Linked DNA regions of Homo sapiens: regions 2, 3, 4, 5, 6 and 7 are each linked to region 1. The links are contacts of gene promoters, found by promoter capture Hi-C in blood cells and fetal thymus (Javierre and others, 2016). All regions are on one chromosome and are shown on one strand. Each heading gives the region's core, a stretch centred on a gene start or on the middle of the fragment in contact. The rest is flanking DNA. Distances are from core to core; before and after follow the strand shown. Region 1 holds the start of KRT82 (keratin 82). Region 2 has its middle 4.3 kb from the start of KRT8. Region 3 has its middle 7.5 kb from the start of MIR9898. Region 4 overlaps KRT79 (keratin 79). Region 5 has its middle 3.3 kb from the start of KRT3. Region 6 has its middle 4.2 kb from the start of KRT76. Region 7 has its middle 6.4 kb from the start of KRT77.

Evidence for each region. Contacts are between HindIII fragments. The CHiCAGO score rates a contact against its expected background, and 5 or more counts as called.
Region 2: a fragment that was not itself captured here is called in contact with the fragment with the promoter of KRT82 in region 1 in 1 of 17 cell types (erythroblasts); the score reaches 7.3 in erythroblasts.
Region 3: a contact is called between a fragment that was not itself captured here and the fragment with the promoter of KRT82 in region 1, in 10 of 17 cell types (M2 macrophages, M1 macrophages, erythroblasts and 7 more). The highest score is 10.5, in M2 macrophages.
Region 4: a fragment that was not itself captured here is called in contact with the fragment with the promoter of KRT82 in region 1 in 1 of 17 cell types (endothelial precursors); the score reaches 6.6 in endothelial precursors.
Region 5: a fragment that was not itself captured here is called in contact with the fragment with the promoter of KRT82 in region 1 in 2 of 17 cell types (endothelial precursors and total CD4 T cells); the score reaches 5.8 in endothelial precursors.
Region 6: a contact is called between a fragment that was not itself captured here and the fragment with the promoter of KRT82 in region 1, in 1 of 17 cell types (endothelial precursors). The highest score is 6.5, in endothelial precursors.
Region 7: a fragment that was not itself captured here is called in contact with the fragment with the promoter of KRT82 in region 1 in 1 of 17 cell types (endothelial precursors); the score reaches 7.4 in endothelial precursors.

Annotation. Positions count from the first base shown.
Region 1 is chr12:52,404,223-52,407,895 of GRCh38, forward strand. It overlaps KRT82 (keratin 82), which reads right to left and starts at 2,113. Exons shown (of 9, transcript NM_033033.4): 1 at 1,645-2,113. The coding sequence starts at 2,055. The HindIII fragment of the contact is 6,676 bases long and covers 551-3,673 here.
Region 2 is chr12:52,907,554-52,911,226 of GRCh38, forward strand. It overlaps a transcript of KRT8 not described here. Among named protein-coding and RNA genes, the nearest start is that of KRT8, 4.3 kb to the left of the region's middle. The HindIII fragment of the contact is 423 bases long and covers 1,543-1,965 here.
Region 3 is chr12:52,889,671-52,893,343 of GRCh38, forward strand. No RefSeq gene overlaps it. Among named protein-coding and RNA genes, the nearest start is that of MIR9898, 7.5 kb to the right of the region's middle. The HindIII fragment of the contact is 2,470 bases long and covers 859-3,328 here.
Region 4 is chr12:52,817,810-52,821,482 of GRCh38, forward strand. KRT79 (keratin 79) reads right to left here. Exons shown (of 9, transcript NM_175834.3): 9 at 3,599-3,673. Among named protein-coding and RNA genes, the nearest start is that of KRT4, 5.5 kb to the left of the region's middle. RefSeq lists an enhancer at 410-911. The HindIII fragment of the contact is 1,770 bases long and covers 685-2,454 here.
Region 5 is chr12:52,797,567-52,801,239 of GRCh38, forward strand. No RefSeq gene overlaps it. Among named protein-coding and RNA genes, the nearest start is that of KRT3, 3.3 kb to the left of the region's middle. The HindIII fragment of the contact is 5,805 bases long and covers 1-3,673 here.
Region 6 is chr12:52,779,703-52,783,375 of GRCh38, forward strand. No RefSeq gene overlaps it. Among named protein-coding and RNA genes, the nearest start is that of KRT76, 4.2 kb to the left of the region's middle. The HindIII fragment of the contact is 1,580 bases long and covers 1,196-2,775 here.
Region 7 is chr12:52,708,081-52,711,753 of GRCh38, forward strand. No RefSeq gene overlaps it. Among named protein-coding and RNA genes, the nearest start is that of KRT77, 6.4 kb to the left of the region's middle. The HindIII fragment of the contact is 2,732 bases long and covers 422-3,153 here.

The DNA.
Region 1 (3,673 bases), core at 863-3,362:
TTGACCAAGACATCCTGTCCCTTCAAGCCTCACTTTGCTTCCCAAAGCTCCTACCTGGGACAGTGTATGGGAAGGGACTCTGTTAACTTCATACTAGTGTCAGAGGATGTGAAGCTTGGGGGTCGAGGCTTTCCTTTATGACAGCCTAGGGACACTCAGGGGAAAAGACGGATCAAGGGACTCTAAGCTCTTTTCACCTACTGTGCTGCATCCTACATGGCTGTATCTGAAAAAAGTCCAGGTCCTAGTAATGTGGACAGCTGCTGGCCTCCTCCTCCCTTTTCGTAAAGTGGAAACTGAGATTAGGAGTTGAGTAAGTTCACCATGGCCACCCGGCTGGACATTGACTAAGGGAACGTGGTCTCCAGCCCTTGCTCTGGAATTTTCCACATCGTGCATTGTCTGTCAAGAAAACTACAGAAGTATCATTGCCCTACTTCTGGTCAGTGGCTGCATCAACAGGAGGCTCCCAGCCTAACAGAAGGTGGTGTGATGTTGTTGCTAATTCGGGCCCATGTTTTTGGAATAAGTTTATAGCCAGAACTTAATAAGCTTTAGAAATAAAACTGTAAGTTTGACTAAACAAGTTCCTCTGTGAAGCACTTTGGCATATATTACCTCCTCTAATCTCCCACCGTCATTCCTCCCCTTCCTCACTGGGCAGCACCGTCCAAAGGCCAAGAGGTGAATGGCTTGCCCGGGGATTCCGGGTGTAGGAGTAGAGTCAATGCCAGTGGCCAGGGCTCCTGACCTCTGGCCCAGGACTCTTGCCCCTAAACCTTACGGTCACCAGAAACACCAGCTCAAACTGTGGAATGAATCCTCACCCCAAGAGCCTCCCTGGGGCGTGGGATGGACCCAGAGGCTGTTGAGTCCTTCAGCACCTTCAGAAGGCATGCCACATCTTTTCCTGCAGTGGGTGCTGTACTGTAGATGTGGGAATCTGCGCTCTTCCTGCAGTGGGTGCTATACTGTAGATGTGGGAATCTGCACTGTTCCTGCAGTGGGTGCTGTGCTGTAGATGTGGGAATCTGCACTGTTCCTGCAGTGGGTGCAGATTCAGTTCAGCACCTTCTGAAGGCATGCCTTCCTAGCAGCCTTTCAGTGGCTCTGGAGATGACAGATGTAAGACTTTTGTGACCGTCACCCTGTGCCTCTAGCTCTGACTGTCCACTTTCCTCTCATCCCAGGCCTAAAATGATTGGAAACTCTGAGGTCACAGTGTCCATCCTCACCTTCAGGCTCAAGAGTTGTGACACAGCTCAGGCACACAGAAGGCGGTTCTACTGTTAAAGCCTCATCAGGAAGGGCATTTCTCTGCCTCTCTGGTCATTCCTTTCAGTATTGCTTTGGAAGTTCCTCTTATAGTCTGACCTCAGGCAACCTTGGTGATTGGTGATTTTGTCAGATAATATTCAGAGAAAGATGATATATTTTAAGAAAGACAAGGAAGCAGAAATGTTTAGTGCAGAATCTGATCTAACTGGCTTTCAAAGGCTGGTGGTCGTGGAATGTGAGGGAGGCCACTGGATAAACTGAGGCCTCCTCAATGTCAGTCTCCTCCTGGTTCCCTTGGACCAGAACAAGACCAGACCCCAGATCTGCAGTGGGTCCTCTCACGGCCCTGGGCCACTGCCCCCTTACCTTGTTGATGAAAGATGCGAAACGGTTGTTGAGGCACTTGATCTGCTCCTTCTCATCCCTCTTTACCCTCTGCACAGTCGGGTCTATCTCCAGTGCCAGTGGGACCAGCAGGCTCTCATTGATGGTGACAGGGGTGATGCAGGCAGAAGGCCCACAGGTGGCTCCCAGTCGGTACCCGAAGCCAGGCAGGGTACCTCCACACCTGGAGGCTACCCGGGGCCTCCCAAAGCCCACGTTGCACAGGCTCCGTGAGCCAAGGCAGCCCAGAGCTCGGAGGCCCCTACCACCCCCGGGCCGGCATGGCCCCTTGCTCACTGCATAGTGGGTGACCATCCGGGGCATGACAGCCGAGTATGAGCTGAAACTCTGACTGCCACACCTGGAGCCTGGCTGGAAAGAGTGGTACGACATGGCAGGAGAGAGAGGCAGAGAAATGCGGCCCTGGAGGAAAGAACCGGGGCAGGATGATCAAGTCAGGCTCAGCTTCCCCCCTTTTATCTGGTAGGGGGATGGAGGACTGAGATGTGTCAAACCCCAAATCACCATTAAACTAGGTTTATGAGCTTGGGATATTGGCAGAGCTAAGTAGCAAGGTGGATAATTAGGGTAGCGAAGAGCAAAGAGAAGGGGCCAATGGTCAGTGCTGGTGGGCCCTATAAAAATCCTATTTGTCCTCCTTCCTTGATTGTGGGGGTGATGAAAGGGGCCAACCAGACAGATATGTTCCATGTATCCAGTGGCTCAGCCTCAAGGAAAGGGAGAGTTGGGACTACGTCATTTCATAGGAGGGGAGGCGTGCCATGAATTATACACCCTGGCTTCTCTGGGATTAGAGGGCAAGTCCCATATGCTTAAAGATGCTCTGGCTCTTTCCCCAAGGCTGCTCCTAGGCTTTTTTGCAGATCCTCAACCCAAGTGCCCTCTGTGGGCTCCTAGGTGAGTCAGGAAGTTCCCAGGAGGAAGGCTTTTGGGGTGGGAGAATCCTCCCTACAACAGGCCGGACCTTAACCCTCCTGAGCTCTGGCTCAGTGACCCACTGTCCCATGAGGGTCTTGAAGGTAGACAGACTCCAGGCATAGACACTTTTCTACAGGGCCCATCAGTCCACAAAGGCTGCAGGGAACTCAAGAGGAGAGGCCTGGTGCTTGAGAAGGGCAGAGGAAGGGACGCTCTCCTCAACACTTCTGGGGCCCCCAGAAGGCATGATTTCAGCATCAGGTCTCGGCTTCCATGTGGCTGTTCCTTTCCCCTTTTGCCCAACCCAGCCTGAGTGTCCCTGAGGTCAACAGAGCCAGCTTTGGCCTGAGGATGTCTCTGGGGAGAGTTGTTGCCCTTGGGAATTTTCAGGTGGAGGTGGGATTCAGGTTTTCTTTCCAGCTCAGGTCGCAGACACAGCTCTTTGGAGATGTCTGAAGCCCCCGCCTCACTCTCTTTCCTCCTCTTTTCCATCAATTTCATCAGTGAAACTTTTGCCATGGCCGAATGGCCTTTCCCTTCCACACTGAGACTTATCACCAGGTCAAAATCAAACCAATAATAATAATAATAACAATAATAAACATTTATTGGGCATTTATTGTGTGTTGGGACCACTCCGTACTCTTTACATCCATGGTCTCATTTAATTCTCTGACCACACAATGAGATAGTTACTATGCCACAGACAGGAAAATGGGAAGCACAGCAGTTAAGAGCAACATCCCCAAGTCACACAGCTTGTGGCTGATCAGCTGGGAGTCCATCCTGTTCCTTTTGACTTCACCCTGCCATGCTGCTCCACAGCAGGGAAGCCCAGGTGAGGAATTGGGAATCTGCTGCCCATAAATGTTCTGTTGTCCCTGTCCGTCAGCCTTCCAACCTGTGGATTAGGAGACTGGAACTCAAAGGTTTCCTGAGCCTCAGAAATTCTCAGTCTCATTGTGACATTTCACACTCCCTGTCCCCTTTTTCATAGTCCTGACTGTGGGCCCCAGAGTAGTGGAGGAGGAGGGGTGCAAGGCGAGACCACAGGCCACAATGGGAGGCAGAA
Region 2 (3,673 bases), core at 504-3,003, 500 kb after region 1:
GTCCCTTGTTTAAGGTGAGGACAGAGGGGGTTGCCAGGGACCCTGCAGTATGCAGGCTGGAGGGCTGACCCAGACCTTACCCAGCCAGGGGAAGCCCTTTTTTTCTGGGGCAGCCCAGAACCGTCTAGGGCCAGAAGTGTTTGTGTCTCATTTGTCATCTCTCTATTGCCCAGAGACCCCAGCCAAACCTTCCCCCAGATGCCCCAAGCACAGCCTCGGTGCAGGAGAAGAGGCCAGAGTTGGCCTCTCTGATGGCCCCTGCCTGGGACTTCAGGGTTAAAGGCAGAAGGAGAAGGCCCCTGGGACTAGGGCCAAGTGGTGAGGGAAGAGAGAACCAGACTGGAGCAGGCCCACAGGTACAACTCCTTGTAAGGCATTGTGGTCTACACACAGCTGCCTGCCGGACAAAAGGGAACAACGTGTTTGCGGTGCCTGCCCTACCCAGACAACTCTGCCTCAAACCGCCTTTCCTGGAGAGTGAACCAGGGAAGGAGGAGACACTCACTCCCTGTGGGCCAAGAGTGAGGGCCAGGCCCCCTACTTCTGATGGTGCAGGATAATTCAGAGAAGGCCCTGAGACCCTGAGCAGTGGCATTAAGTCTTGGGGCCAGTGGGGTGGGGAGGTAGCTGTTATCATCACTCATGATCATGGGAAGAGATGGTCTGAACAAGTTTTTTTTTTTCTTTTTTGAGACGGAGTCTCGCTCTGTCACCCAGACTGGAGTGCAGTGGCGCAATCTCGGCTCACTGCAAGCTCCGCCTCCCGGGATCTGAACAAGTTTTGCTTAGAGATCAGGACTGATGATCTCATTCGCTGCAACCTTGTTCATAATAGCCAAAGAGTGGGAACAAAACAAATGTCCACCAAATGACGAATGGATTTCTTTAATGTGGCATATCCATACGATCTAATGTTACAATTAAAAGGAATGAACTACTGATGCATGTTGGATGCAGATGAGCCTTGAAACCCGTATGCTCAGTGAAAGGAGACAGTCATAGAAGATCAGGTACCCTATGATTCCATTTATATGACATGTGCACAACAGGCAAAGCATAGAGACAGGAAGTAGATTAGTGGTTGCCTAGGGAGGGGAGGAATGGAGATGAATGCTAAAGAGCACAGGGTTTCTTTCTGGGGTGATGAGAATGTTCTAAATTTGATGGTGGTGGGCAGGCACAATGGCTCTACCTATAATCCCAGCACTTTGGGAGGTCGAGGCAGGAGGATTACTTTAGCCCAGGAGTTTGAGACCAGCTGAGCAACATAATGAGACCCCCGTCTCTACAAAAAATACAAAAATTAGCCAGGTATGGCGGCACACGCCTGTAGTCCCAGCTGCCCTGGAGGCTGAGTTGTGAGGATCACCTGAGCCCCGAAAGTTGAGGCCGCATGCATTGAGCCAAGACTGTGCCACTGCACTCTAGCCTGCGTGGGAGACAGAGTGAAACTCTGTCTCAAAAATAAATAAATAAATAAACAAATTTGATGATGGTGAAGCTGCACAAGTCTGTGAACATACTAAAAATCACTGAACTGCAAGCTTCAGATTGTTGAATTATATTGTATGTGAATTACAGCTCAACAAAGTTGTAACAAAAAGATAACCACAAAAGCATAAATGAGCTACATATAAAAAGCAGGGGCTTTGTGCCCAGCATAAGGGGTCAGGGGAAAGAAGCAAAGAGTTTGTTTAGATGCCCCAGGTAAAGAGGCTTCCTGCCTCTGGGTTAAGGCAATGCCCGAAAAGCACCCGAAATCCCTTTAAATGATGGAGCATTTTGAAATGTTATTATTGGTATAGAAATAGCTGCATTTAGCATAGAGACAGCAGAACAATTTGTTTAAATAGGAAGCCACAGGTGGTGGGTACACCCCTCAGGAAGCAGCATCATGAATAATAGAGTCAATTCGATTGCTAATTTTGTGTTATGTGCCTCAAGGCTAAAATTTTTCATTGTCAAAGCTTAGCAAATGCTGACTTTTTTGCTCTTGATCAGTGATGGATCTGATGATTAAAGCCAGCCAGGATGGAAATGGACTGCCTAGAGAGGGAGCAACCTCCTGTACCTGGAGACATGGAGAGGGACCTTGCTCACCAGCTGTCCACTGGCTCAGTGGGAGGGGGTTCTCACATCTGCTAGGGTTTGAATTAGAATGTCCAAGTCCCGCCAACTCTGAAAGCTTTTGATCCACATCCACCACCATAGAGCTTTACGCACTGAAGATGAAAATCTGTGAATGTTCTCTGGTTTGAAATTTTGCTTGTGATAAGAGATATGATTAGAAATTATTAGAACAAGAGTGAGGGAGGACAGCACAGCCTTGTTGTGGAGGAAGGAGACACAAGCCCAGCAGCCTGAAGATGTTGAGGTCTCCCACACTTTTTTTTCTTTTTTTTAGAGACAGGATCTCACTATGTTGCCCAGCCTGACTCGAACTCCTGGATGCAAGCAATCCTTCTGCCTCAGCCTCCCAAAGTACTAGGGTTACAGCGTGAGCCACTGCACACAGCCTTTCTCACATTTTCAACATTCTCTCACCCTCCTCTCCACTGATGCCAAACCAAGAAGGTCATCCCACTGGGTGAGCATGAAGCCTAGGCGGAAGGTCCCAGCTATGGCTCAGTCCACAGAGTCCTTCCCCTTAACTCTGGTTCTCCATCACATCAAGATCGCCCGTGGGAGATTATAACAGTATACGTGCTCAGGTCGCACCCCGTCTGCATTTTCAAAGCTTCCTCGGTACAGCCAGAGTCAGGCACCAGGCTTTAGCTCTGGTCCCAACACCAAGACCTTTAGGAACACACTTTCTTCCTCTTCCCAGAGGAAATAGGCCAGAGCTCAAATCCACAGCACTGCAGGTTCCTGCTTAGAAAGGGTGATATACTCTGTCCCTCAGGAAGGAAAACAGAGTGGTTCAGTCCCCAGAACCTGAAACTCCACCACCGTTGGCCAGGGCCACAGAGACAGAGACAGAGACTGCGAGAGGACAGACACAAATGGGTCCCACTCCTGACAGTGAAGACAGCGGTACTGGGGACTTGAGTGACAGGAAGTGGAAGTTATTGAGAGGATTTCAAGGAAACTTCAGAAGCTGACATTGCGATAGGGGAAGCCCTCATGGTGTTCAGGCAACCGGACAGGAGTGCAGGAAAAGAACAAACAGGAAGGACCTGGGGCTCCGCTATAGGCATCCTGCCCACCCCCACCCCAGCCCTGAGGATTCCCCTGGCCTGAGCTGCTTAGCACTGGAGCTGATATCCAGAGGCCCACTGTTTTGATTTTCCTGCTGGGCAACCTGAGGACTAAGGTGGGAGTTGGGGACAGGGACTAGAGGCCTTTATTCCTTCCTGTATTCACCTTTTCATTTATCCACATATTTGCTTATCAGGCAGTAGTCTAAAAAATTTCAGGAGATGAAGTATTTGGGTCCTCTCAAACCAAAGGAGGTAGGAGTCTCCTTTGACCAAGGCAAGGTATTTCCTGAAAGTCCCTGTTGAGAAGTGACCATCAGGCCAGACGTGGTGGCTCACACCTGTAATCCCAGCACTTTGGGAGGCCGAGGCGGGCTGATCACCTGAGGTCAGCAGTTCAAGACCAGCCTGGCCAACATGGTGAAACCCCATTTCTACTAAAAATACAGAAATTAGCCGGGCGTGGTAGTGGGCAC
Region 3 (3,673 bases), core at 844-3,343, 490 kb after region 1:
ACAAAAATTAGCTGGTTGTGGCGGCACATGCCTGTAGTCTCAGCTACTCAGGAGGCTGAGGCCAAACAATCACTTGAACCCAGGAGGCAGAGGTTGCAGTGAGCCGAGATCATGCCACTGCACTCCAGCCTGGCAACAAAGTGAGACTGTCTCAAAAAAAAAAAAAAAAAACTTATCAAACTCCCAAATTGTTTGGGCCAGGCTCGGTAGCTCACTCCTGTACTCTCAACACTTTGGGAGGCCAAGGTGAGTTGATCATGAGGTCAGGAGTTCAAGACCAGCCTGGCCAAAATAATGAAACCCCGTCTCTACTAAAAATACAAAACTTAGCCAGGCATGGTGGCATGTGCCTGTAGCCCCAGCTGCTCAGGAGGCTGAGGCAGGAGAATCGCTTGAACCCAGGAGGTGAAGGTTGCAGTGAGCCGAGATCATGCCATTGCACTCCAGCTTGGGCGACAGAGAGAGACTTTGTCTCAAAAAAATAAAAAAGATGGCTATCAATATGGAAATGGTTCATTCCTTTTTATTTGATAATTTTTATTGACCACCTACTATGTGCCTGGCACTCTGCTAAACACTGAAGAATCAGTGGAGAACCAAGCAGATATGGTGTGTCCCTGCCCTCATGGAGCTTACAGTGTATGGGGAAAGGCTGATATTAATAAAATACCTCTGCAGATGAATGAGTGACTGTAATTTACAAGGAGAAAATACAGGGTGCCTTGGGAACTTATCATAGAAACACGCCACTCAGTTTGTGGTGTCTAGAAGACTTTCTTGTCTTGTGGTGTCATAAAACTTTTTGTCTTGTCTTGTGGTGTCAGAAGACTTTCTTGGGGAAGCTGCGTTTGAGCGGAAAGCTTGGGAGTGACTAGGAAAGGCAGGGTGTTCCAAGCAGGGGGCCAGCCATGCAATGCCCTGAGCAGAAGCAAATTCCATGTAGGCTATGCCCTGAAAAGCCTGCACCACTGCATCAGAGAGCAAGGGACAGAGTGGCCAGGATGAGGCCTCAGAGGAGGAAGAGTAGGCACAGCCTGTGGGCCAAGTCAAGATTTAGGGCTTTATTCTGGGTGTCAAAAGTAAAGGGTTTTCCCATCATTCTGAGCAAACTATTGCAAGGGCAGAAAACCAAACACCGCATGTTCTCACTCATAGGTGGGAATTGAACAATGAGAACACTTAGACACAGGGTGGGGAACATCACACACCAGGGCCTGTCGTGGGGTGGGGGTAGAGGGGAGGGATAGCATTAGGAGATATACCTAATGTAAATGAAGAGTTAACGAGTTAACGGGTGCAGCACACCAACATGGCACATGTATACATATGTAACAAACCTGCATGTTGTGCACATGTACCCTAGAACTTAAAGTATAATAAAAAATAAAGAAAGAAAAGAAAAAAATAAAATAAAAATAAAGGGTTTTCCATATAAGGAAGTAACTGAATCTGATTCATATTTTTGAGAATGCACTCTGATTTTGGGGGCAGTGAACTATTCTGTATGGTACTGTAATGGTGGCTACATGGCCCCCACAGAATGTCCACACTAAGAGTTAACTCTAATGTGAACTATGGACTGTGGGTAATAATGATGTGTCAATGTAGGTTCATCAATCGTAACAAATGTATCCCTCTGAGGTGGGATGTTGATGATGTTGTAACAAATGTAGCCCTCTGGTGTGGGATGCAGGTGTAGGGGCAGAATGTGTATGAGAACCCTCTACCTCCTGCTCGATTTTGCTATGAACCTAAAATTGCTCTTTTTTTCTTTTTTTTTTTTTTTTTTTTTTTTGAGACGGAGTCTTTCTCTGTCGCCCAGGCTGGAGTGCAGTGGCATGATCTCAGTTCACTGCAAGCTCTGCCTCCTGGGTTCACACCATTCTCCTGCCTCAGCCTCTCGAGTAGCTGGGACTACAGGCGCCTGCCACCACACCCAGATAATTTTTTTGTATTTTTTAGTAGAGACGGGGTTTCACCATGTTAGCCAGGATGGTCTCGATCTCCTGACCTCGTGATCCACCCGCCTCAGCCTCCCAAAGTGCTGGGATTACAGGCATGAGCCACAGCGCCTAGCTAAAACTGTTCTTAAAAAATAAGTCTACTAAAAAAAAGTGCACTCTGGCAAGGGGCCCAAGTGAACCTTCTGTGATATAGGAAATGTTCTACATTACAGGTGTGAACATAAGTTAAAACTCATCAGGCGCCGGGCACGGTGGCTCACGCCTGTAATCCCAGCACTTTGGGAGGCTGAGGCGGGTGGATCACCTGAGGTCGGGAGTTGCCTGACCAACACGGAGAAACCCCGTCTCTACTAAAAATACAAAATTAGCCCGGCGTGGTGGCGCATGCCTGTAGTCCCAGCTACTCAGGAGGCTGAGGCGGGAGAATCGCTTGAACCTGGGCAGCGGAGGTTGCAGTGAGCCGAGATCGTGCCATTGCACTTCAGCCTGGGCAACAAGAGTGAAACTCCATCTCAAAAAAAATAAATAAAAATAAAAATAAAAAAACTCATCAGGTTGTACATTCCCCATTAAAGCACATTTTGCATTTTATTGTATGTACAATATGCCTCAGCAAGGAGGAAACAAAGGGACTTGTGATTGGCCAAGGCTGGCCCATTGTGAACCCTGTGTGCCTGGACAGAGGTCCTGTGATCTTAGGAGGAACAGTTCCTGAAAAGAAGTGGGGCGTGGCAGGAGTGGAGGTGGGGGAGCTTTGCATTACTAGAAGAAGGGGGAAGGGGTCCTGGCTAGACAAAGCAACTATGCCCACCACAATGTGTAAAAGGGCAGCGCGGAGAGTGAACTAGGGGGCCACCCACCATGCTGGTATCCTTCCCTGCCTTCCTTTCCTTGCAGTGGTGCTTCCTCTTCCTTTCCCAACAGGTAGAATCTATGATATATAATTACGTAGGGACATGCATGCACACATTTCTATCTATCCTTCATGAAGGGTATGTACTGTCCGCATTGTCACATGCCTTGCTTTAACATTCACTCCTCCATTCCCACCACCTTACACTCCAGTCAGCCTGGCCCTCGGTCCTTAGCCCACCTTCAGATCCCCCTACTACAGGGGAGCTCCTAGACCACCTTAGCCCAGATCAGCGGGCAGGCAGAGCAAAACCTTGGAATTAAAATATCTTCAGAAGAGTCCACAAATGCTTGGAAGACTCATCATTTTAATCCTGGGTGGTTGGGTCGGGAAAGGCAGGGTGGAGGGAAGTGGGGGATAATGGCTGGCTCATCTGGAATAGTCAAACAGGAACCTTCTTCTACACATGTAAATTTTCTAAAAAACTAAAATTCAGTCCCATAGGAAATCAAGCTTTAAAAACAAAAAGTCTACTAAAATTTAAATGTGCACACATTTTGCTTCAGCAATTCCACTTGTAGGAATTATTAAGATATCCTCACCATTGTCATAGCAAATACCAATAGAGGACTGGTTAAGTAAATTGTGGCACATCCCAAAGTGGAATATTATGCAGCTGTGAAAAAGAGTGGAGAAGCAACTTGTATACTGATATGGAAGGAACAGGTATTGGGTGAATGTTAAAGCAAGGCATGTGACAACACATATAGTACAATACCCTTCATGAAGGATAGATAGAAATGTATGCATGTATGTCCCTATGTAACTATATATAATAACTTCTACTTGGAATGAA
Region 4 (3,673 bases), core at 320-2,819, 410 kb after region 1:
GCCTGAGATCACACAGCCAGGAAGTGGTAGAGATAGGAAGTCAGTACTATCTGTCTGACTTCAAAGCTTGTGACCTTACAATGTATAAAACGGTAGGTATAATGTTTTATATGAGTGACTGGCCCACACAGAATATGCAGGGAAAAAAATACACAGCAACTTATACAGCCCTGTACCTCATGGTCCACCAAGACAGCCATGGGGTCTGGCCAGCAGGCTGCAAGCTCTGCAGATGCAGCTCCGCTCCTTTTTGTCCTTACCCTCAGCACATGGTCAGTTGCTTGGTTGATGTGGCCCTGTCCTTACAAGTACCCAATAAGGTATGACACTGTCCTGAGGGGCCAGTTTTGTATCCTCCAATTAACTAAATCCAAATTAATTTCATGACAAACCCTACCATAAACCCAATCCAAACAAGAAGAAAGTTCTAGTCTAGAGCCACATTCTGTGTCCTTATTATTAAATCAGAATTGCAAGAAGCTCACAAAATCTTCAAACTGAGCCTGAGAAACCGAAGGTAGACCTAAGGAAGAACTTCCTATGCAAGAGCGCCTTTACACCCTAGAGTGAGAGAGAAAGAGAGATGAGTTTCTTTCCCTGAAAACGGGGAAAGACATTGCCTTCATATGTGGGCCAGAGGCAGGTGGCTGAACAAGGCGCCACTACCCAGCAGCCACAGCTGGAAGCTTGTCCCCTGCCCCTCCCCAGACCTCCACACGCAGATTCTGCTACTGCCCTCGGTGACCCTTCCTTGTTTGGCAGCTGTTCCCAATCTTTTCACAGAGGGATGAGCAGCCGACAGGGGTGTGGAGCCAGGCGGAGGGAGTGTTTGCTCAGGGCTTTCTGGGTAAGGGAGGCAAGCCCTTACATTCAGCCCTGGGATTAAGGGATCCTGAGGGCTTCTGTCACTCTCATCTCCAAACCCACTGTGTGGTGTGGGAAAGTGCTCCTGCCCTCCCTGGCCAGGCGGGCACCCTCACTCCATTCGGTCACCCAACCTCAACTGCCCCACCGGGCCTGAGTCATTCTTGGGGAACCAGAGACAACACGGGGATCAGAGATTCTGCAGAAAAGGGCCATCAGCGTTTTAGGGAGAGGCCAGTGAGGGCAATGAGAGGACGGGCACTCCTGAGAGCCAGGTATGGGGGTCTGTACCCAGGGGCTCCTCTTTCCCCGGGCCGGAGAGCTGCCCCTGCTGGCCTCCTACCCCAGGCATATACAGGCAGGGGCTTCCCAGCATGTTCTGGCAGCAAAAGCACCCTCATAAACAAAATCACGTGCACAGCCTCATGAGTAAAACAGATAAGGAGAGATGATCCAGTTGGTGCAGAGGAGGGACCATGATCCTTCTCACCTGCTGACCTCCCCCTGCACCCCTGAAAGCAGCCCTTAGGGTCCTCAGTTTGGAAACCCCTGGGTCTGGGCCATTCCCCTCCTTCGACAAGTATGTCTAAGCAGCGCATTATTGTTGGTGGGCCCCCCTGGGCTGCAGTATAATCTCTGAGGCTTTTTTCCATGACAATCAAAAGTTTCTATTGTTCAGTTTTTGAGCCCTAAATATAATTTTTTTGAGACAGGGTCTCCCTCTGTCACCCAGGCTGGAGTGCAATGGTGCAATCACAGCTCACCGCAGCCTCAACAGCCTCAAGTGATCCTCCCACCTCAGCCTCCCAAGTAGCTGGGACTACAGGTATGCATTATCAAACCCAGCTAATTTTTGTATTTTTTTGTAGAGGCAGAGTCTCACCATGTTGCCAGGCTTGTCTTGAACTCCTGGGCTCAAGTGATCCACCTGCCTCAGCCTCCCAAAGTGCTGGAATTACAGGCAGGAGCCACAACACCTGGCCTATGATCTCACTAAAACTGATTTTTTTTTTAACACTGCCACTAAGTTACCGTGGCTTTGGATACATTCTTCCCCTTCCTCAACCTGTTTTCTTATCTATGAAATAAAAAGTTTGGAGTCGATTACATCCAATGCCCCTTCTAGCTCCAGCATCCCCAGGTCTCCATTCCTTTTTCTATATAAGCAAAATAACCTGGTGCTTAAGAGCTTGGGCTATGGAACCAGATTGCTTGGATTCCACACCTAGCTCTGCTACTTCCTAGCTGTGTGACCTTAGGCAAGTTACTTAACCACTCTGTGCCTTATTTTCCTTATAGGCAAAATTAGAATGATAATAGTATTTATATTATAGGCTGTTGTGAAGAGAATCAGTTAAAGGCTTGACAGCAGTTCTGGCACACAGTTGGCACTCAGTGAGCATTAGCAAGTATTCCTCAAAGTGTTGTACATGGGGTGGACTATACTCCATCTGTCTGAGAAGGGAAGCTAGAGACCACCCAAGCTGGTGAGGCAGAGCTGACCCTAAACCGCTAGGCCTTTGTGTTCCTAAGCTGGAGGTTAGGGTTTGGCTGAAAATCCCTCTGCTGGCCTTCCACAGCCCTGGAGGAAGCTTTCTCAGGGCTCTTCGGGGCTCCTCTGAGGAGGACAGAGTGATCAGGCCGGAAGAGTGTGGGATGCATCCCAGCAACTGCCAGGAGCCCTAAGGTTGCCAAGGAAGGGAGCGGAGTGGTGACAGCCTCGGGTCGGGCCAACTGGTTTGGTAGCAGGGTGGGGAGGGCCTGAGAGGTGCAGGGTTGAGAGGCCAGCCAATTGGGGAATCACTTGGGTACAGCTTGAGGAGTGGGGTCCAGACTCAAAGTAGAGAACTGTGGAGATGAAGAGGAAAGAAGGTGATACCAAGAGACGCATGGAGGGAGGAGCAGTAAGATTTGGCGAGTGATGGAGGCAGGAGTAGGACGGAGGTAGCTTCTGGGGTGACAGGACAGAGGGCTTGAAATTGCAGCCCTGGACACTACTGACCCACCTCCAGCCAGCTGGATGACTACAGCATGAGAGGTCACTTCTGTGAGCGTGAATCGCCTCACCTGTAAACTGGAACACCACATGCCCACTACTGAACCTAGGGCTGTGGTGATGGTCACAGGCAAAGTAATGTATGTGTAAACCACAAAACCCAATTAAGTGTGGATTTTTCTTGCCGACTGGATGTGGGGGCTGAGAGAGACATCACTGAGGCCAAGAGGATAAGCTGGGAATCCAGAAGTCAGGGAGTGGGAAAGCAAAGAAACCTGATTCCTGAAAGGGCCTCTATAAGCCAGATGCTTTACACATGTTCTTATCACAACCCACTTTTACAAAGGAGGAAACTAAGGCTCAGAGAGGTTAGGTAACTTGACCGAGGTCATACAGCTAGTAAGTGGCAGAACTTGGATTTAAACCCAAGTTGCCTAGTTCTGAAGCCTAAGACCTCTCCACTGAACAAAGCATGCTGTCTGCCCCTACAGAGTTAGTGGGAGGCTGAACAGGCACCAGGGGTGGCTGGTTAATAGGCAGCCACTTAGCCAGGTCTGGCCTTGAGCAGCTTACATATTCCCTCTGAGCCTTGGTCTCCTCTTGTGAGCCATGTACAGCCCTGGAGTGGCGATGGTATCAAACTAATGTACCTAAGTAAGCATGGCGATTGGGATGTGGTGAGTGTGTGATTATTGCTGTGTCAGGCATCAGGATGTTAATCAATGGACACAATTTCAGTTCCCCAGGCAGGACAGACTGCAGCCACAGACAGCTAGCTGCAGTTGCACCATTTATTGAGACACAGACAGGGAA
Region 5 (3,673 bases), core at 810-3,309, 390 kb after region 1:
CAGGATAAAACCATAAGCTCTCCAGGAGTTTCCAGTCTTGTTAATATACTGGGTGCCTTGAACCAAAGCACAGTGCTTTGCCAATAGTAAGTGCCATAAAGTTTGGTTTGTTGAAAAAATGAATTAGTCCATCAATTAATTATTAATGACTAATGGTTAAGCCCTTATACTGGATTACAACCAGATAAAACTGGTTGAAAGCTAGTTCAACTCCCATTGCATGAGGTAGCACAAGCTAATTGAGATTATTTCAATGTGAGGAATCCAGACTTCTCAAATTTGGTGTTCAGATTTAGAAAAATTTACATGCAAAATGAGTGTCACCTCCTCAGGGGAAAAAAATGTAGAATCACAGAATCAAGAACTAATCAATCAAGAATCAATCAATTACAGAATCAAGTTGAAGTTGACTGGACATTTGAGGTCACACAATCTGCCCCGTTCATTGCTGGGATCCCCTCTCCAGCATCTCTGACTTATATCCCTAATTTTCTGCAAGTTCTGCCCATGGACTGTGAAGTTAGCCCAGGCCTAGAGTGTGGCCACACAGGCTCCTCTCCTCTTTGCTCCCTCAAAGGCAATGAACCAAACCCAGGGCTAGACCAGATCCTCCCCATGACTAAGCATGACCAAAGCTATTTAAATTCTCTGCATTTCAGCATCATTAACCATAAAAGATGATCAATCATCTCTGACCCTCTAGATCTCACAGGAACATAGCTAGATGAATGAAATATCTGCCAGTGTTTTAAGAAACATATCACAAGGCCAAATGTGGTGGCTCACGCCTGTAACCCCAATACTTTGCAAGGCTGAGGTGGGCAGATTGCTTGAGCCCAGGAGTTTCAGACCAGCCTTGGAAACATGGCAAAACACCATCTCTATGAAAAAAATACAAAGATTAGCCGGGTGTGGTGTCATGTGCCTGTAGACCCAGGTGCTTGGGAGGCTAAGGTCGGAGGATCACTTGATCCTGGGAGGTCAAGGCTGCACTGAGCTATGATTGCACCATGGCACTCCAGCCTGGACAACAGAACAAGACCCTTCTCAACAAAAGAAAAAGAAAAAAGGAAACATATCACAAAAATTAGACCATATTTTTCCTTATAATATCTAAGAGAGCAGGATGGAGGACCTGCCTTTATGCCAGACAGAAATGAGGCTGCTGCTTGGTCTGGTGTGGGGTCTAGAGTCCAGGGCAATGAGTCTCTAGGAATTCCTAAACCCATAGTGATTCAGGGTACTTAGTGCCCCAATGGGGGGAGATCTTAGTCATTGCCAGAGCCCACTGATTCTGAGCCATGCTTGTCATTCCTTTAGAGGGAATTATCTTGGAGAAGAATCTTTGAGAAGCAACATCACAACCACTGCTGTCATCAGCTAGTCCTGGGTCGGGGACCTCCCCAGCAGATGGTGGAAGAAAAAGGAAGAAGGGCATAATCTATACTTACTCTTGGGGTTGGGATAGCAGAGAAGACATGGCTTGACCTTTGAGAGGACAGGGAGCAAAACAAAGATTGGGGAATACATTCGTGGGACTAGATTGTCAATTCTGATCAGAGCTGTGAGTGAAGGAAGTGGTGGAAGGGGAGGAGATAATCAGTGAGTTGAAATTCTTATTGGTTGGGCCCATCCCTCTAAACTTGTAGGGCCTAATAAACACTTTGAGAAAACAGAGTTGGTTTACAGTCATCCCCAACACTTGAATTATCTGAAGTTTATTAACTAAGCGCCCTAAGTGTTTACTCCCTGGAGAAAAGAGTGAGTCACTGGATTGCAATGTGTAAAATCGAGACTCATAGGGTGCTACGGCCAGGAGGCTCTCCAGTCCACTCCTCTACCTCGAGGCAGAATTCACCTGGCCACTCCTACTCTTCAGGATCCCCATGGAAGGCGATTCATCAAATCTCCTAACTTGCCCAGGCCAGCAAGACCCCACCCTGACCCAAGGAAGGTCTTCAAGGATCTAGCTTTCGTGCCTTCCACTCCATTTCATGGGAGCCTAACTCCTCTTAAAGGATCAGTGAAGTTGTGGTCAGCAGCAGGAGGCCCAGTCACCTGTCCGTCATGGCATGGCACCCATACCTCTCTGCTTGTGAAGGCCCCTTTTAACACACAAAAAATTACATTGACCTTCACACATGTCAGAACTCATACTTCCAGTATCCTTTGAGAATATACATTTTTTACTATGAATTTAGCAACACTTTTAAATAAAAGTGCAGTTCATAGTCATATACATTTGAAAGTGGTAATACATATACATAAAAAGACACATTATTCACTCAGTCGAGAGACACTTGCATCCATGTGCATTCTCAGAATCCTTGCAGTCCTGACACAACAGCAACCCTAACTGGGGCCTCTCAGCCTCAGGTCTCAAGGTCCTGCCCCTTCCACGGCTGGACACCTGCCCCCAGCTGAGATTCCCCACTGAGCACTGTTACCACCTGTCTTCCCTGCCTTTGTGTCCATCAGCCTGTGGCCCTGGCAGGCCTTCAGCAGATGGGAACTGAGTTGCGATGAATTTGCTCTTGCCTGGCCTTCCATAGTAAAACACACACACTCCCCTGGTTTCTGTATCACAACCCTTCCAATATTAGAAAATACTGTGGAATTCACAGACACCAACCTCCCAGTTAGATAGACCCAGTTGTTTCTCCCAGTCCTCAGTACAGATGGTTTCCGGGAATCTTCTCTGCACCCACTTTAATATGTTAATGGACCTCTTAAAACTACAGTGCCTTGCTAAGATAGGATACTTAAGGTGGCTTCATGTGCACCAGAACTAATAAGAAGCCCCTTCCTGTCTGTGATGGGGGCACTGTGCTTCTTTCAATGCAAGCTAAGATTCTGTTCCCTTCTTTAGCTCTTGACTTCCATCAATCCTGCCTGGGGAGGAGGAATGGTAAGGCATGGGTTTGTTGGTGGTGGGGGCAGGGGGTTGTTTTTGTTTTTTTGTTTTTGTTTTGAGAGAGAGAGAGAGAGCCCCTCACTCTGTTGCTGAGGCTGGAGTGCAGTGGTGCAATCTCAGCTCACTGCAACCTCAACCTCCCAGGCTCAAGCCATCCTCCCACCTCAGCCTCCCAAGTAGCTGGGACACTGGCATGCACCACCATGCCCAGCTAACACTTTTTTTATTTTTTTTGTAGAGACAGAGTCTCTCTATGTAACCCAGGTTGGTCTTGAACTCCTAGGCTCAAGCAATCCGCCCACTTCAGCCTCCCAAAGTGCTGGGATTATAAACATGGGCCACCATGCCAGCCAGCTTCCTAGTTTTAAATAACTCACTTCCTTGTCCTGCTGTAAGAATAAACTGAAGGGACAGCATTCACAAAGCACTTACAGAGAAAATAAACATAACAGTAAAAATGAAAAAAAAAAAAGGTTTGCCCTGAATAAGCCTCTATTTACATAAGATTCCTCTGCATGGATAAGAGCTGTCCATTTATATTTGTGCTGAATCATGTCTGGCTGGCATGCCTGCTCAAACCAGAGGCTTGTACACAGCAGAAATCACAACCTTGTCCTCGCTGGAGAATTCCCAAGAGATCTTAGGAAGTTATTAAACAGTTGTCTTCAAACAAAAGATAGGCCGGGCGTGGTGGCTCAGGCCTGTAATCCCAGGACTTTGGGAGGCCGAGGCGGGCGGATCACGAGGTCAGGAGACTGA
Region 6 (3,673 bases), core at 736-3,235, 380 kb after region 1:
GGTACTTGACTTCTCTCTCTCCTTATTTTTAAAAGGTGGCATTGATCCTACTTGCAGGATTGTTTTGAAATTTAAATACATAGTATTCAGCAATATATGTTTGGATTTTTAAATTAACATCATTCATCCACAGATAATCCAGGAAGAGGATTTCATGTTGAGTTCTTCCATGAGACATTTATACTCCACCCATCAATTGAATGACAGCCCCTCCTGGTAAGGTCTTTCCTCATATCCTCTGGATCCTTTAAAAGCAGAAGATCACATGCTCTTCCTGGAAAGAAAGCTGAGCCAGGCTCAGCTGAAGCTCCAGGTGAGAGTCCGAAGCAAACAAGAACAGACATAAATGTCTCTGATTCCCTTCCCTCCCTTGGCTGCAGTACTGAGGTGGTGGGTGGCAGCCTCTGATGTGTGGCTCACCTCTGCCACCCTGGCCTAGGCTGGAGAAGCGTGGTGGAGAAAGGTGATGCACAGATCACAAAAGCGCGGGTTTGGGCTGGGTCGCCTAATCCATGTCGCATGAGCCTGCCAAAGCATCACCTTATTTAGCAGATGGGGATTGTCTTCTCAGCAGTTGAATGGAGCTGCTGGAAATACCCAGAGTTGCTATCCTCACCAACATTGCCCTCATTCACTGTAGGATCTTTCAGAACAGTATCTAAAGGGTCTGCCTACTGCCAGCAATCTGAGTTCCAATCCCTCACTGCCAGAACATTCTGTGTAAAGCTTGCCAGATGGCTGAGCACCCTGGATTTTTATTTCCCCACCTATAAAATTGGGGGCACTAAAACCAAGGAGTTATTCCCTCTAACCAAATTGCTCTCTGGTAGTCAACTGCAGTGAGAAGACTTCAGATTGCCTGTAACATAATTATGAGTGGAGGAATGCATCATGAGACAGTAGTCATTATCCTTGGCCAAAGTGAGCAGTCATCCCTCTCCACCACCATCTGCTGAGGATGAGGGAGCCATGGCTGCTGCCTCTTTCTCCATGGAGGTTCGCAGATCCCATTTTCAAGATAATCACCAATTTGTTCTCAAAAATAAAAAAAGAATAATTAACGTTCTGGGTATGCTGCCCCTGGACTAGGAATTAGCATTCTTTTCTTGTTGAAATAAAAGCTTGTCACTAGTGAAGCAATTTTAACCAATGAACAGTAAAAATAATTACCATATAGAGCAAGATTTATAGTGAAAGCTTGATAAAGAAGCAAACATCTAAGTACAACTAAGTCCTTATGTTACTAAGGTCTTAGCTGTTAGCAACCACAATTTGTTCTGATTCTGGTCTTATCTCTACACTTGATTAAAATACACACCAGCTCACCCCTCATTCTTTATCTGGTACTTGGATCTCTCCCAGGGCTTATGCAGGGCAGAATTCTATCTCCCAAGATGGCCCTGATTAAAAGGTTCTGTGATTACATAAATTTGGGAAATGAAAAATCTATAGCTCTTTCCTGGGATTTTAGTAAAGTTGTTTAGTATATTAAAAGCCCAAAGAAGTCCTATAGAAAATAATGTCTTTGCCTTAATTTAATCACAGCTTCCCAAATTTAACAACAAAATCTTTCTATCTTAACATCTACTAACATGCTGTCAAGTATACTCGGGAAACGCTAGTCCAACTAGCCATCCAGGATGGATGAGAATGTGCAGATAGACCAGTGCAGATAGACCAATCAGAGGATTAGGGCATAAGGAGACATCCTCATTCCTGGAGAAAGAGCACTTGCTCCAAGTGAGCTCCTCATCCCTGGAGAGAAAGCACTTGCTCCAAGTGAGATAGCAGGAAACTGAGAGCAGACTAAGGCCTGGGGTTGAAGATGCAGCAAGAAGGGCACTGGGACGCCGAAAACTGAACAGGTTCTCTAAAGACAAGCTCTCCTGTCAATGAATATTTCTCACCAATAAATGGATTTGGCTGAATATTTCCAAAAACCGTGGATATTTCATGGGCATGCTGGATTTTCTGGAACTCAAATAACTTCATCTCCTCCTCTCTTCCCTTGCAGCTTGAAAGAGTGGAAAATATGGAAGCCTTGGAATTAGACGAGCCTGTGTTCAGATCCCAGCCTTGCCACTTTCCAGTTGCATGGCATCAGGCAAGACATTTTACCCTCTGGACCTCAGTTTCCCATTCAGCAAATGGGAGTTAGCACAGCCTCCTCATAGAGTTGCAGTGGGGACTGTAGGAGGTAAAGTTGGAAAACCCTTACACAAAGCAGGTGCTCAACACTTGGCAGCCCTTGTGATGATGATGTCAATGTAGGAAGCCCTCCTAGAAGGTGTCAGTTTGGAAGCTGAAGAGGAAGGAGGAGTTCTAAGGGGTAGCCCAGTTTAGGGTCAAGGCAACAGTGAAGTCTTTGATTATTTTGCAACAAGTTGCAAAGAATCATACTGTCTGTATTGAGAATTACATAAAAGCCATTTTCCCATGTCTGGCCAAGCCATTTTCCCACTACAGGGCCTCGTCAGTAATGCAATCTATCAATCAGCAAATACTTATTGATCTACTACATACTTTTTAGAGGTGTGGGGACTATGTTTCAGTGAAAACAATTTCCTCTTTCAAATCTTAACTCCTATTGCCCATCTGTGAATAGAATTTTAAAACAGCTAACATTGACTGCCTAACATATACAAGTCACTGACAGGTTGTTTACATGTGTCATTTCTAATTGTCACAAAAACTTTGTAAGGTAGGAATTTTCATTCACATTTTACAGATAAGGGCATGAGGTTAATTAACTTGCCTCAAGTCAATTCACTTGCAAGCTTGGATTTTAATCAGACTGTCCAATCCCAAAGCCTGTCGTAAATTCGTGAATGCTTTTCTTCTGCATAGACTTTCAGCAAGTCAAATTACACCATCCCAAAGTGAAAAGTCCACTTTGACATGTAAAGAACCCACCAATATTCTCTCCACCTGACCACCACATGATAGGTTGGACACCAGCCATGTGCAACCTACCATGCTAGCCAGGGCCACCAAGGCACTGGTCAGGACAGTCTCTCAGGGACAGAACACATGGGTGTGCATGGAATTTATAGATGACAAGAGCCGCTCCATCATCTGCAATGTAAAAGGTCTTCACCCTGTTGGAGAAAGAGCAAGAGGCCAGGAGTTTGCGCTGAGCTTAGCTGCTTGCTGGGTCTTAGATGTTGGAGTTGACCACTTGGCCCACAGGAATGATTAGCCACAATCTTCTCTTTCACTTTTTTTTTTTTTTTTTTTTTTTGAGACGGAGTCTCACTCTGTTGCTCAGGCTGGAGTGCAGTGGCACAATCAAGGCTCACTGCAACCTCTGCCTCCCAGGTTCAGGAGATTCTCCTGCCTCAGCCTCCCGAGTAGCTGGGATTACAGGCGCCTGCCACCACACCCAGCTAATTTTTGAATGTTTAGTAGAGACGGGGTTTCACCATGTTGGTCAGGCTGGTCTTGAACTCCTGACCTCAGGTGCTCCACTCGCTTCGGCCTCCCAAAGTACTGGGATTACAGGCATGAGCCACCGTATTTTGTTTTTGCTCACCAAACAGGTAATCAAGATGCACCTTTAAATAATACATTTGTGTTGCATGTTAAAAAAAAAAAAAAAAAAAAAAAAACCCCAACCTTAGAAGGTAATGGTCAGATCTGCCTTGAAGCATCAACTTGTGTTGATGAAAATAGT
Region 7 (3,673 bases), core at 538-3,037, 300 kb after region 1:
GTGATAACATAAAAAAGGAAGTCCCGGACAGCAGAGTTTAGGAAGCTTCTTTGATCTCTGTCTATGATCAGCTTTCAGCATTCAATGCCAACATTGTCATCTACCTCCCGTCAGCTGATGGCCCCTGCTGGGCTGTTGTCATCCCTTGAAGGGCTTGGGAGGGGAGGAGGGACACACCCACTAACTGAGCTTTTGGTGGAGGGTGATAGCTATGCTCTACTTCCTCAGAAGAAAAAAAAATGACTTAAAGTGAAGCACGAGAGATTTTGCTTGTCTCAAAGGAAGTGTTTCAACTCAGATCAATATTAGTGGGTAAATAATGTTCCTAGGACGAATCACTACCCCTAAAAGAAACTCCTCAGCTGGTTAGACTGCAGAGAGCAGCGGTTTCTAAACTGGCTCACACTGGAATCACCTAGAAAGCTTCAAAATCGCTGGTGCCTGGGCCCACACCTAAGGAGTAGAGTTTAATTGGTCTGGGGCTATGGTCTGGACTTTAGAATTTTTAAAAGGTGGTTTTAATGTGCAGCAAGTTTGGAGACCACTGACCTGGAGGAAACAGGACAAATGAAACAGCCTCTTTAGATTCCATTCAGTCTAAGGACACAGATAGGAGTAACAATCATTATCATAATAGTGAACTTCACCAGGTGATTTCCATGGACCATGCACTGTGCTGTCTATAACATGGAAGGTCTCGTGAAATCTAAATACCAACATCATAAGGAAGATATTCTTACTATGTTCATTTTGCAAATGGAGAAAGTGAGACTTGGAAAGAGAATCTTGTCAAAGAATACACTAATGAAAATAGTGGAATGGAGATTTGAACCCGCGCATTCCCACTTCAGAACCTACATGTATTGCAGAAGAGATGGGGTCGTTGGAGAGAGATGTGCCCGCTTCCTCCTCTCCCCACCTGCCACCTTAAAAGGAAAGTGGGAAGTTAGTTGAAGGCTGCAGCTCACCCAGCCCATCTCCCAGTTACTGAAACCCAGGGCTGCCAAGAAGGTGAGGCCCAGAGCAACTATCAGCCACCTGGATCACAGTTCCAGACAGCAGCGGGAAGCAGGGTTCAGAAGAGCTGCTGGCATGACCAGCAGGAGCAGCTCCCAAAGCTCTATCCCCCACCTCACCCTACATTTCCCAGGGTCTGGAGGTGGATATCACAGAGGTGTGTCAGGGGCGTGGGGCTGGAAAAAGGAAGGGAGAGAGACTCTCACTCACCAGTCCCCACCAAGAAGAGAGTGGAGAGCTGCAGCCCCGGTCTAGGAATGGGGGCCTTTAACCTCCTTGAAATGAGAGCCTTTTGACCTGTCGTCAGCACAGGGGAGGCAGTGATGTGACACATATCGGAGAGAAACCTATTGGAGCTGAATAGAAGCTGCTAGACTTGGCTTCCCCACCCTTGGCCCACTCTTCTTCCTGCGTAACAGCATCACAGCCAAACATATGATGGACGGTATCAGCCCAGTCCTTCATTTTACAAGGAAGAAATGGGTACAAAGACAGGGACTTGGCCAAAGTTACCCAAAAAAGTTGGTGGTGCAGATAGAATGAGAACTTGGCTACCCTCCCCCGAATTCAGAAAGAATAAGGAGGCCTATGTGAAATTCCCAGGTGCCTCTGTGCTCCTGCAGCCTGGGAGAGATGACTATATGGGGCGTTCCACCTTCAATCTCTAACAAGCCTGCACGCAGGCATGAGAAGGTGGTGCCAGGCACACAGGAACATCCCTGGTGAATCCTCTGATTTCTGGGTTGGGGTGTGTGTTTGGGGCAACACCTAGGGCCTTAAGCTCCTACTGAGGCCCAAAACTAGCCTGGACACCACTTTGACATCCCTTTAACTAGAATCTCAGTGTCTGCCTAGAGCATAAGAATCGGGCAGTCTCCTTCCTTCTCGGCAAACCCAATAGGTGCTTTTGGGCCTGGATATTGTCTAGAGGCCTCACTAAGGGCAGCTTGCAAATTCCCACGGCAAAGGTCCAGAGACAATATTGTGCCAAGCGTGTCAAAGCTCTTCCATCCAACATACTGGAAGTCATGACTATTTATACAATCATTTATTTATTTATTTATACAACCATTTATTTGTTTATAATTCACCCAGGCTGAAATGCTCACTGCAACCTCCACCTCCCGGGTTCAAGTGATTCTTGTGCCTCAGCCTGGCAACTCTTTTGTCTCTGAAGCAAAGGGAGCAGCTAGGCAGGTGTGGCCCCAAAGGAAAATAAGGCTACAGGTTAGACTTGGATTGAATTCCAAAAGAAACAGTGAGGTCCCAGCGGAGGAATGGTGCTGTCTGGGCAGAGAATGCTTCTATATGTTGGATCAAAGAGGACGGGCCAGTCTCAAGGTTACAGGGGTAGTTAGTGGTGGGGTGGGACCAGCATTCCAAGTCCCTGAGGGTAATATGAGACCTGCCATCAATTCCAGGTTCGTGTCTCACTTGACCATGATGGGAGAGATTACAGTGCTTTATAACCATAAGGAATTTGCAGTGTATTATTCTCTTCATTTAAAGAATAGACAGGTTCCTGAAACACTGGCCATAATTAGTAATGACCTTTTATTGAGCTCTTACAATGTGCCAAGAATTAAACAGATGACATGATTCCATCCACACAACTGCATTTTACTGATGACTTTTGGGTGAGGGGTCTGGAGGGTGGCTCAAGGTCACACACTCCTGGTAAGGAGTGGGCCCAGATTACACCTAGCAGCTGGGTTCCAAAGCCTGAGAGTTTCTTGCTGTACTATCTTATCTTCTGCTTTATGGGGCAATTTAGGAGGGCTTTGAGGTTAGGCCTTCTGGAGTTTGAATCCTGGTGCCATCCCTTCTAGTTACATGACCTTGGATAAGTTCATTCATCTCTCTGCGCTTTCATTTCCTCTTTTGTGAAGCAGAGGCCATAACACTGCCTACCTCACAGGGCTGTGAAGATTAGATGGGTTAATTCAGAAAAAGCTCAGCACATGTCAGGCAAATAACAAGAGATCATCTACTTTAGCAATTATTACATTATTACAAAAGTAAATTTCTATTAACCAAACTGCATTTTCCATCCAGCTTCCCTTAAATTAGAAAGTCACCATAAGCAGGAAACTGTGGCCCTGTAATATATTGTAAATCATATAAAAGATGCAGACAAGCTTTTCTTTAATCATCTATTTAAAGGAAGATGGCAATTTATTGATGAGTTTGAAACAAGCCAAAAGTATCTCCTCTGTCATTAAGCTAAAGGGCAATCTCTCCAAGCTGCATTCACTGCTTAGGAGGCACATGTGGGTTTGCTTTTTCTTGTTCATTTAGAGAATTTGTTCACCATAGAGAAAATTTCATAATAACTGAAATTTTGTACCCTTTAAGCAACATCTCCCCATTTCTCCCACCCCTACTTCCAACTCCTGGCAACCACCCTTCAACTCCATTTCTATGAGTTTGACTGTCTTAGATTACACATATAGTGAGATTCTAAGGTATTTGTCTTTTTTTTTTTTTTTTTTTTTTTGAGACAGGGCAGGGTTTGGCTCTGTCGCCCAGGCTGAAATATTCACTGCAACCTCCACCTCCCGGGTTCGAGAGATTCTCATGCCTCAACCTCCCAAGTAGCTGGGATCACAGGCATGTGCCACCACGCCCAGCTAAAATATTTGTCTTTCAATGTCTG